2 separate regions of the Homo sapiens genome follow, and region 1 is linked to region 2. Evidence: promoter capture Hi-C in human tissues and cell types (Jung and others, 2019). All regions are on one chromosome and are shown on one strand. The core of a region is centred on a gene start or on the middle of the fragment in contact, and the rest is flanking DNA. Distances in the headings are between cores, read along the strand shown.

Evidence for each region. Contacts are between HindIII fragments. The study calls those that stand out against the background at their distance.
Region 1: a fragment that was not itself captured here is called in contact with the fragment with the promoter of SESN2 in region 2 in 1 of the 25 tissues and cell types used here (spleen).

What each region holds. Positions count from the first base shown.
Region 1 is chr1:28,922,710-28,927,106 of GRCh38, reverse strand. The region is part of intron 1 of EPB41 (erythrocyte membrane protein band 4.1); the gene reads right to left. Among named protein-coding and RNA genes, the nearest start is that of EPB41, 10 kb to the right of the region's middle. The HindIII fragment of the contact is 3,394 bases long and covers 270-3,663 here.
Region 2 is chr1:28,256,394-28,260,845 of GRCh38, reverse strand. It overlaps SESN2 (sestrin 2), which reads right to left and starts at 1,328. Exons shown (of 10, transcript NM_031459.5): 1 at 909-1,328. The coding sequence starts at 998. RefSeq lists silencers at 418-477, 1,258-1,467 and enhancers at 737-1,585, 1,578-1,757. The HindIII fragment of the contact is 10,821 bases long and covers 1-3,901 here.

The DNA.
Region 1 (4,397 bases), core at 717-3,216, 670 kb before region 2:
ACCCCTTCCTGTTTTTCAACCTTGTATGTTTACTTTCACATCTGCTGCAAAAGATAAAAGCAACAATGGAGACATCAACCACATGACTGTGTTCTACCCAACCGGAAATAAAGCTCTGAAGCCAGACTTGCTGTGAAATGGGTCTTTAGAATACTCACACTCAGGCATAAAAATGTTACAGTATAAGTCTGGATCAAATCCAAAGATCAACACTAGACAAAACCAGGTGCAGCTATATTACACATGTTTATATATAATAAGCATTAGACAGACATCCAATTTAAGTAGAAAAATGCATAAGTCAAGAGGTAAAAATTATTCTCATTGCAAGATTATTCTCTCCCATCTCCATGAGGTCAGATTTTATCAAAGGGAAAAGGGAACTAACATTTATTGAGTACCTCTGACAGGCACACTACAAGGTTTGTTTTTATTAGTTATTCTATAGATTATCTGCAATGTGAGTATTATGCTCATTCTACAGAAGAAACTGAGGTGTGGAAAAGTACTTTCACAAGATCACAATTAGTAAGAAATCATTGGCTTTGACAGAAGATCCAAATCTCTCCTTCCCCACCCACTCATGGACATAAGTAAAGGTATAGTCGTAAAAAATACTGGCTTTGAAGCGAATTTTCGCTTGCTAGTTGTGTAACTTTGGACAAGTTACTTAACTTTTGGCCTGGTTAATACCTACTCCAAAGAGCTGTGGTGAAGATTAAATGCAAAAATAATAATGGGTAACATTTATCTGGTGCTGGGCACTGTTCTAATCCATTTAATCATCAAAATAACCTTAAAAGATATGTATTTGTATCATACCTACATTACAGAATGATTAGAAGTGAGGTGATATGGTTTGGCTCTGTAGCCCCACCCAGATCTCATCTTGAATTGTAATTTTTGTATTTTTTTTTTTTTTTAGTAGAGATGGGATTTCACCATGTTTGGCCAGGCTGGCCTCGAACTTCTGACTTCAGGTGATCCACCTGCCTCGGCCTCCCAAAGTGCTGGGATTACAGGTGTGAGCCACTGCATCTGGCCTATAATTTTTTTTTGAGACAAGGGTCTCTCTATGTTGCCCAGGCTAGTCTCAAACTCCTGGGCTCAAACAATCCTCCCACATCGGCCTCCCAAAATGCTGGGATTACAGGCATGAGCCCCATCTTTTATATTTTTGTGATCACATATATAAACAGAGTCCTGCTCACTTAACATGTACTAAATGAAGGATCGTGCCATTCCTCTGCTCAAAATCCTCCCAAGAACTCCCGTCTCCAAATAAAATGCGAAGTCATTAACACAGGCAATAAGGCACTACAATGATTTGCTCCTTCTCCTACCTATGACCTCTCTGAATTAAACTCCTGCTACTTTTCCCTAGATCATTTTGACCCAACATGCTGGATCAATGTTTCTCATACACACCAAACCCGCTTAACTTTTGTGCATTTTGTTCCTTCTGCCTGGGATGCTCTTCCCCAGATACCTGCACAGCTCACTGTCTTACTCCATTTAGGACTCTGCTCCAATGTCACCTTATCAGAAGTATCACCCTTATCTAAAATGTACACCCCACCTGCCTCACTGTCTCCCATTCTACTTTCCCTGATCCTCACTAAAATCTGATGTCTTATGTTCTATCCCTGATTTATACATTTATTATTTATCCCCTACCACTAAAATGTAAGCTCCAGGCTGGGTGTGGTGGCTCATGACTATAATCCCAACACTTTAGGAGGCCAAGGCAAGAGACTACTTGAGCCCAGGAGTTCAAGACCAAAATGGGCAACATATGGAGACCCCATCCCTACAAAAAATTTCATTTAAAAATTAGCCAGAATGGCCAGGCGCGGTGGCTCACGCCTGTAATCCCAGCATTTTGAGAGGCCGAGGTGGGCGGATCACAAGGTCAGGAGTTCGGGACCAGCCTGGCCAATATGGTGAAACCCTGCCTCTACTAAAAATAAAAAATTAGCCGGGCATGGTGGTGGGTGCTTGTAGTCCCAGCTACTCAGGAGGCTGAGGCGGGGGAAAAGCTTGAACCTGGGAGACGGAGGTTGCAGTGAGCCGAGATCGCGCTACTGCACTCCAGCCTGGGTGACAGAGCGAGACTCCATCTCAAAAAAAAAAAAAAAAAAAGTTAGCCAGGCATAGTGGTGTGTGCCTGTAGTCTCAGCTCCTCAGGAGGCTGAGGTGGGAGGACTGCTTGAGCCCAGGAGGTTGAGGCTGCAGTGAGCTGTGACCACACCACTGCACTCCAGCCTGGGTGACAGTGCAAGACCCTGTCCCAGAAAAAGAAATAAGCTGCACAAGAACAGATACCTCTATTTTATTCACTGCTATGTCCCAATGTACTTATGATAGTGCCTTGTAAATAGTGAACAATCAATAAGTATTTATTACATGAATAAGTGGTAGATGTTTTAGTTATCTATTACTTTACAATAAATTACCCTCCAAAACATGGTGGCTTAAAACAGCAAACATTTATTATTGCACAGTTTCTGTGGATGAAGAATCCAGGCATGACTTAGCTAGGTGACTCTGGCTTGGGGTCTTTTTTATTTTTTTTTTGAGATGTAGTCTCGCTCTGTCACCCAGAGCTGGAGTGCAGTGGCACGATCTCAGCTCACTACAACCGCCACCTCTCAGGATCAAGCGATTATCCTGCCTCAACCTCCCAAGTAGCTGGGACTACAGGTGCACACCACCACACCCAGGTAATTCTTCTATTTTTAGTAGAGACGGGGTTTCGCCATGTTGGCAAGGCAGGTCTCGAGTTCCTGACCTCAGGTGATCCACCCACCTTGGCCTCCCAAAGTGTTGGGATTACAGGCATGAGCCACGCACCCGGCCAGGGGCTTTCATGAAGTTGTAGTAAAGCTGTCTACTGCATTTGCATTCACCTCTAGGCTCAACTCTGCCTGGAGAATCTGCTTCCAAGATCACTCACACCGAAGATCTGCATCCAAGTTTACTGACAGACCTCGTTTTTAACCACATGGACATCACTACAGACTGCCTGAGTGTTCTCAGGATATGGTAGCTAGTGGTCCCAGGGAGAGGGAGAAAGCCAGAATCCCAAGAGAGAAGCCACAGTATTTTATAACCTAATCTTAGAAGTGACATCCCATCACTTTTGCTGTATTCTATTCAATAGCCCCCACTCAAGGGGAGGAAATTACACTAAGGGTATGCATACCAGGAGGGAGGGATAATTGGGGGCCATAATAAAGGCTGCCTACCACAGTACGCATGATAAAAATTTAAAAACATAAAACAAAAAAACTTGCCCTTTAGTTATATATTCTTTGGTATATTTATTTAAATATGATTCTATGATCATTATGCAATTATTCATCCCAATGCTAGTCTTTTCCATCTTACAAAATACCAAAGAGAATACATTAAATATTGAACATATCTTGTTAACCAGTGTCCATTAATGGTCATATTAGAGATAATACAACTAGCAAGGATAAGTCAACAAAAATAGCATCTGGAGAAAAAAAGACTTACTGGGTAAATCTTGCTAAGTAGATGACACTGACCTTTACTATTTAATCATTATAGGCATCATCTTTAGGAGACGGAATGGCACTTAATAAAAGATCAGCTTTTTATATTACAATTAAAGAAATAATAAAAATTCAAAGGTTACTTAGTAAGCTAGAGGATATATCAATCTACCGTTAAGAAATAAAAAGGTTGCCAAGCGCAGTGGCTCACACCTCTAATCCCAGCACTTTGGGAGGCCGAGGCGGGTAGATTACCTGAGGTCAGGAGTTCGAGACCAGCCTGACCAACATAGTGAAACCCTGTCTCTACTAAAATACAAAAATTAGCCAGGTGTGGTGGCACACGCCTGTAATCCCAGCTACTTGGGAGGCTGAGGCAGGAGAATCGCTTGAATCCGGGAGCTGAGATCCCATCACTGCACTCCAGCCTGGGTGACAGAGTGAGACTCCATCTCAAAAAAAAAAAAAAAAAAAGAAAAGAAAAGAAAGGAAAGAAGGAAGAAAAAGGTTTAAGGCTAATTACACATACCTGATTATCAGAATCAAACAGTGCATCACGGCTGAGTGTGTTGGCTCACACCTATAATCCCAACACTTTGGGAGGCCAAGTCAGGAGGATCTCTTGAGACCAGGCTGGGCAATATCATAAGATCATCTCAGCCTGGGCACAATGGCTCACACCTGTAATTCCAGCACTTTGGGAGGCCGAGGCAGGCGGATCATGAGGTCAGGAGTTTGAGACCAGCCTGGCCAATATGGTGAAACCCCGACTCTACTAAAAAATACAAAAATTAGCCGGGCATGGTAGCACACACCTATAGTCCCAGGTACTTGGGAGGCTGAGGCAGAAGAATTGCTTGAACCCGGGAGGCAGAG
Region 2 (4,452 bases), core at 79-2,578:
TAAATGATAAGATGTCCATTATCGCTGCTGCTGGTAGTGGTGGGGGAGTGCGAACTGTCAGTCTGGTTAGGTCCAGCCTAATTCCCGGTCTCCCTGCAAAGCCCCTGCGGGCTATGCCGGGATGCGAATGCGGGGGGGTGGAGGGGAGCGGCGCGAAGGGAGGGTGGGGGAGGAATTTCTGGAAAACAAACTTCTGGGCCTTCAGACCACTTACTTAGCAGGGCGCAGCCTAACCCGCGCTTGGCTTCGGAAGCCGCGACCAGGGTTGTCCCCTCTCCCCCCAGCTTTGGCTGCCGCCGCCGCGTACCGGGCGGCCCGCCAAGCCCCCAGAGCCCCTGCGCTCTCCCTCCAAAGCAGGAGTGCGGTGGACATAGGATGAGGTCGACTTTCACTGGCCAGTCCCAGGTGCCTACGCCCCGCGCTGGGGGACAGGAGCCGGGAGGCACCCCAGGAAGGGTCCTCTGCCCGCCGGCCCCCGCGAAGAGGAAGGGACTCCGCGGAAGGGGGCGGGGAGGAGGAGTGGTCTGGCCGCTCCGGCCGGGATTTGCCTGGACTTGAAGACGCTCAGGAGCCCAAAGCTCGGAGAGCCTCCAGAAGGCTTCTCCCTCATTGGCCAGGAGTCCGAGGGAGCCGAGGAAGGATCCGCGGCCCTGGGGTGGGGCGGTGAGGGAGAGGGGGAGAGGGAGGGAGGAGGGGGAGAGGGAGGGGGAGAAGGAGGGAGAGGGGAGACAGAGTGGGGGAGGGGTGCCGAGGGCCGCGGCTGCCAGTTGATGCAACCCGGGTCCCGGGTTACGCGCTCGGCTTTCCCTCCCCGAGCCCAGGACACACCGACTCAGCTCCGGACAGCCTGAGGCTCAGACGCGGTTCGGGGTTCCAGGGAAGAGGGGCGTCGCGCGGCCGCCGCTTACCTCTCCGGGGCCCGAGTCGCCGACGCCGCCCGGGGCGAACCGCAGGTAGTCCTTGAGCTCTGCGCGGCACTCGGAGTCCGCCACGATCATGGTGCGCGCCAGGACCCGGTCGCGGCTCGCCGACGACCCGTGCACCCGAGTGGGTTTCGGAGGGACGCCCGAATGAAGCCGGGACTGGGCGCCGCCGGGGAGCTTCTAGAACCCCGGGGCGTCTCTCGGGGCTCCAGAACGCTCCGGAATCCGAGAACGGCCGCTTTGGTGCTGGACTCTTCCCCCAGTCGGGCTTCGGGAACGGCGAACGGCCTCGGGGGCCTGGGAAGGGCCGCAGCGCAGGGGTTTTCACGGCCTCGGAAGTCCGCAGGGGCCAGGGCTGCTCCCGGACCCAGCGCTCCTCAGCATCCCCGCCGCGGAACTGCCAGCGCTCGCCGGGCTCTGACACCAGCAGTTCAGCCCGCTGCGGTCCCCGGGGGAGGGCGGGGACACAAAAGCCCGGCGGTCCAGCCAATCAGAGGTCTGTTTCCCCGGGGAGGCGGGGGAAACTCCGCCCCCTGGAGTCACGGGCTCCGCCAATCAGCACCGGGGAGCGCCCGGAATTCTGGGAGTTGTAGTCCGCCTCGGGTGAATGCTGCAAACTTTTGCAAGACGGTTTAGTCAGATCCCTGGCAACACCAGACGGCAGTGACAGCCCTAAGAGTCATTAGGGTTGCGTGATGAAAAGGGACTTCACTGGGCTAGGCCAAACAGCCGAGTGTGAAATCTCCTAAATGAATTCTTCATCTTTTCAGTTCCTGGAGGGACTGGCTAGGGTTAAGAGAGGTTTGGCTCGCGTCCTATCCGGTGCTGCTAATTATAGAACTGAACCCCAGATATTTAGAGGTCAGAGGGCACAACCCTGCTCCCCCTGGCCTCGGGGAAGCTCCAAAGATGCGAGACACAGGGAATTCACCTTATTTGTGGAGCCTCAGGAAAAGCCTTCATTCCTTGAAATGTCATTGGTAACTTCGTGTGGAACCTCAATCCCTATTGCTGGAAGTTTTCTTCCTTCTGCTACCCGTCCTGGCTTCCACCCCTCCCACCCTCCTCGAAACTTTGTAACAAGGTGTTCTGCTGGATCTTTGCTCACCTCTCCCTCTGGCCTTCTCTGACTCCTCTTTCACCACCCACTTCCTAAAACGTGGGTGCTTCCCCAGTTTGTTTTTGCCCCTCTTCCCTCCAGACACTCTCCCTGATCTCATTCACTTCCTGGCCTTCAACTCGCCTCTTGCCAGAAAGTTGCCTCTACCAACACCTCAGCACCTCCAAGCTAAATTCATTTTCTATTCATTTCAAACGGAGCCTCTTCCTTCACAGTTTTCCTTCAGAGCTCCTTTTTTTGTTTCCATTTTAAAGTTATTGTTTATTCTAGACAGGGAATCCTGCCAGGGGTGAGGGTGGATAAGACCCCCAAGTCCCCCTCTGAGACTTCTAAGTCTAAGCTTACAATTCCAAAGATGAAACCGACTTGGTTTCCTGCCTCCAGATTCTTGGGAAAAAGAGATTAATCTCACCCTCCCCTGAGCTCCCAAGGCACTTGAGCTGGATCTCTTTTCACATGTATCACATTCTACCTAGTTTTTTTTGTTTTTTGTTTTTTTGTTTTCTGTTTTTTTGTTTTTGTTTTTTGTTTTTTAGTAAATAGAGACAGGGTCTCAATATGTTGCCCAGGCTGGTCTCAAACTCCTGAGCTCAAGCGATTCTCTCACCTCAGCCTCCCAAAGTGCTAGGATTATAGGCATGAGCCACCATGTCCAGCCACATTCTGCCTTGTATTGTAATTTTCTATGTACATGTTTTATCTGACCCTTTTTTCTTTTTATTAGTATTGTTTTTTAGAGATGGGGTCTAGCTCTGTCACCCAGACTGGAGTACAGTGGCATGATCATAGCACGCTGCAGCTTCAAATTCCTGGGCTCAAGCGATATTCCCTCCTCAGCCCCCCAAATCAATCACTGGGGTTACAGGTGTGCACCACTGAGTCTGGCTTATCTGATCTTTTTAATTGTAAACTCCTTGAGGGCAGGGTCAACATCTTTTTTTTTTTTTTTTTTTTTTTTTTAAACAGAGTCGCACTCTGTCTCCCAGGCTGGAGTGCAGTGGCCCGATCTTGGCTCACTGCAACCTCTGCCTCCCAGGTTCAAGCAATTCTCCTGCCTCAGCCTCCTGAGTAGCTGGGATTACAGGCAAGTGCCACCACACCCGGCTAATTTTTGTATTTTTAGTGGAGACAGGGTTTCACCATGTTGATCAGGCTGGTCTCGAACTCCTGACCTTGTGCTCTGCCCGCCTCAGCCTCCCAAAGTGCTGGCATTATAGGCATGAGCCACCGCGCCTGGCTGGCAGGGTCTACATCTTGACATCCATCTCCTGCTCTATGTCACCTAGCAAAATGTCCTGACAATCATATGCCCTTGGTCACGGAATCTTCCTTTGCATCAACTTCCTCTCTAAACTACCCTGTGTCAGCTTCAGCTTTCATTTAAAAAATTTACTATGTGGCCAGGCGTGGTGGCTCACGCCTGTAATCCCAGCACTTTGGGAGGCCGAGGTGGGCGGATCACGAGGTCAGATCAAGACCATCCTGGCTAACATGGTGAAACCCCGTCTCTACTAAAAATACAAAAAATTAGCCAGGCGTGGTGGCGGGTGCCTGTAGTCCCAGCTACTTGGGAGGCTGAGGCAGGAGAATGGCGTGAACCCAGGAGGCAGAGCTTGCAGTGAGCCGAGATCGTGCCACTGCACTCTAGCCTGGGTGACAGAGTGAGATTCTGTCTCAAAAAAAAAAAAAAATTTACTATGTAATGTCAAAGTCCAGATCAAAAGGCTTCACTGGTATTTCATCAGCTACAGAATTAAGATCAAACTCCTTGGGTGGGCATGGTGGCTCACGCCTGTGATCCCAGCACTTTGGGAGGCAAAGGCAGGCAGATCACCTGAGGTCAGGAGTTCAAGATCATCCTGGCCAACATCGTGAAACCCCATCTCTACTAAATATACAAAAATTAGCCAAGCGTGGTGGTGCACGCCTGTAGTCCCAACTACTCGAAAAGCTGAGGCAGGAGAATCGCTTGAACCCGGGAGGCAGAGGTTGCAGTGAGCTGAGATCGTGCCACTGCACGATCTGGGTGTCAGAGCGAAACCCTGTCTCAAAAAAAAAAAAAAAAAAAATCAAACTCCTATCTTAACATTCAAGGTTTGCCAAGATGCACCTAATTTACCCTCCCATTCTTACCACCTGCAACATCCATGTTTCTTGTTTGGCCTTCAAATCTTTCTTTCAGTACTCTTCTTGCAAATCTCTACCCATTGAAATAGTATCCATCATTCAATGCCTTCATTCCTGTTTGTGGCCTGAAGCAAGACTTTAAATGACACCTCCTCCAAAAAGCTCAGCTGAAAGTAATCTCACCCAGTCCTCAACATCTTCAACACATTCTTTTTATCTCTTTCTACCACTGATCTCCAAACTTGGTGTATGCTTGATATCATGTGTATATATCTCACCACT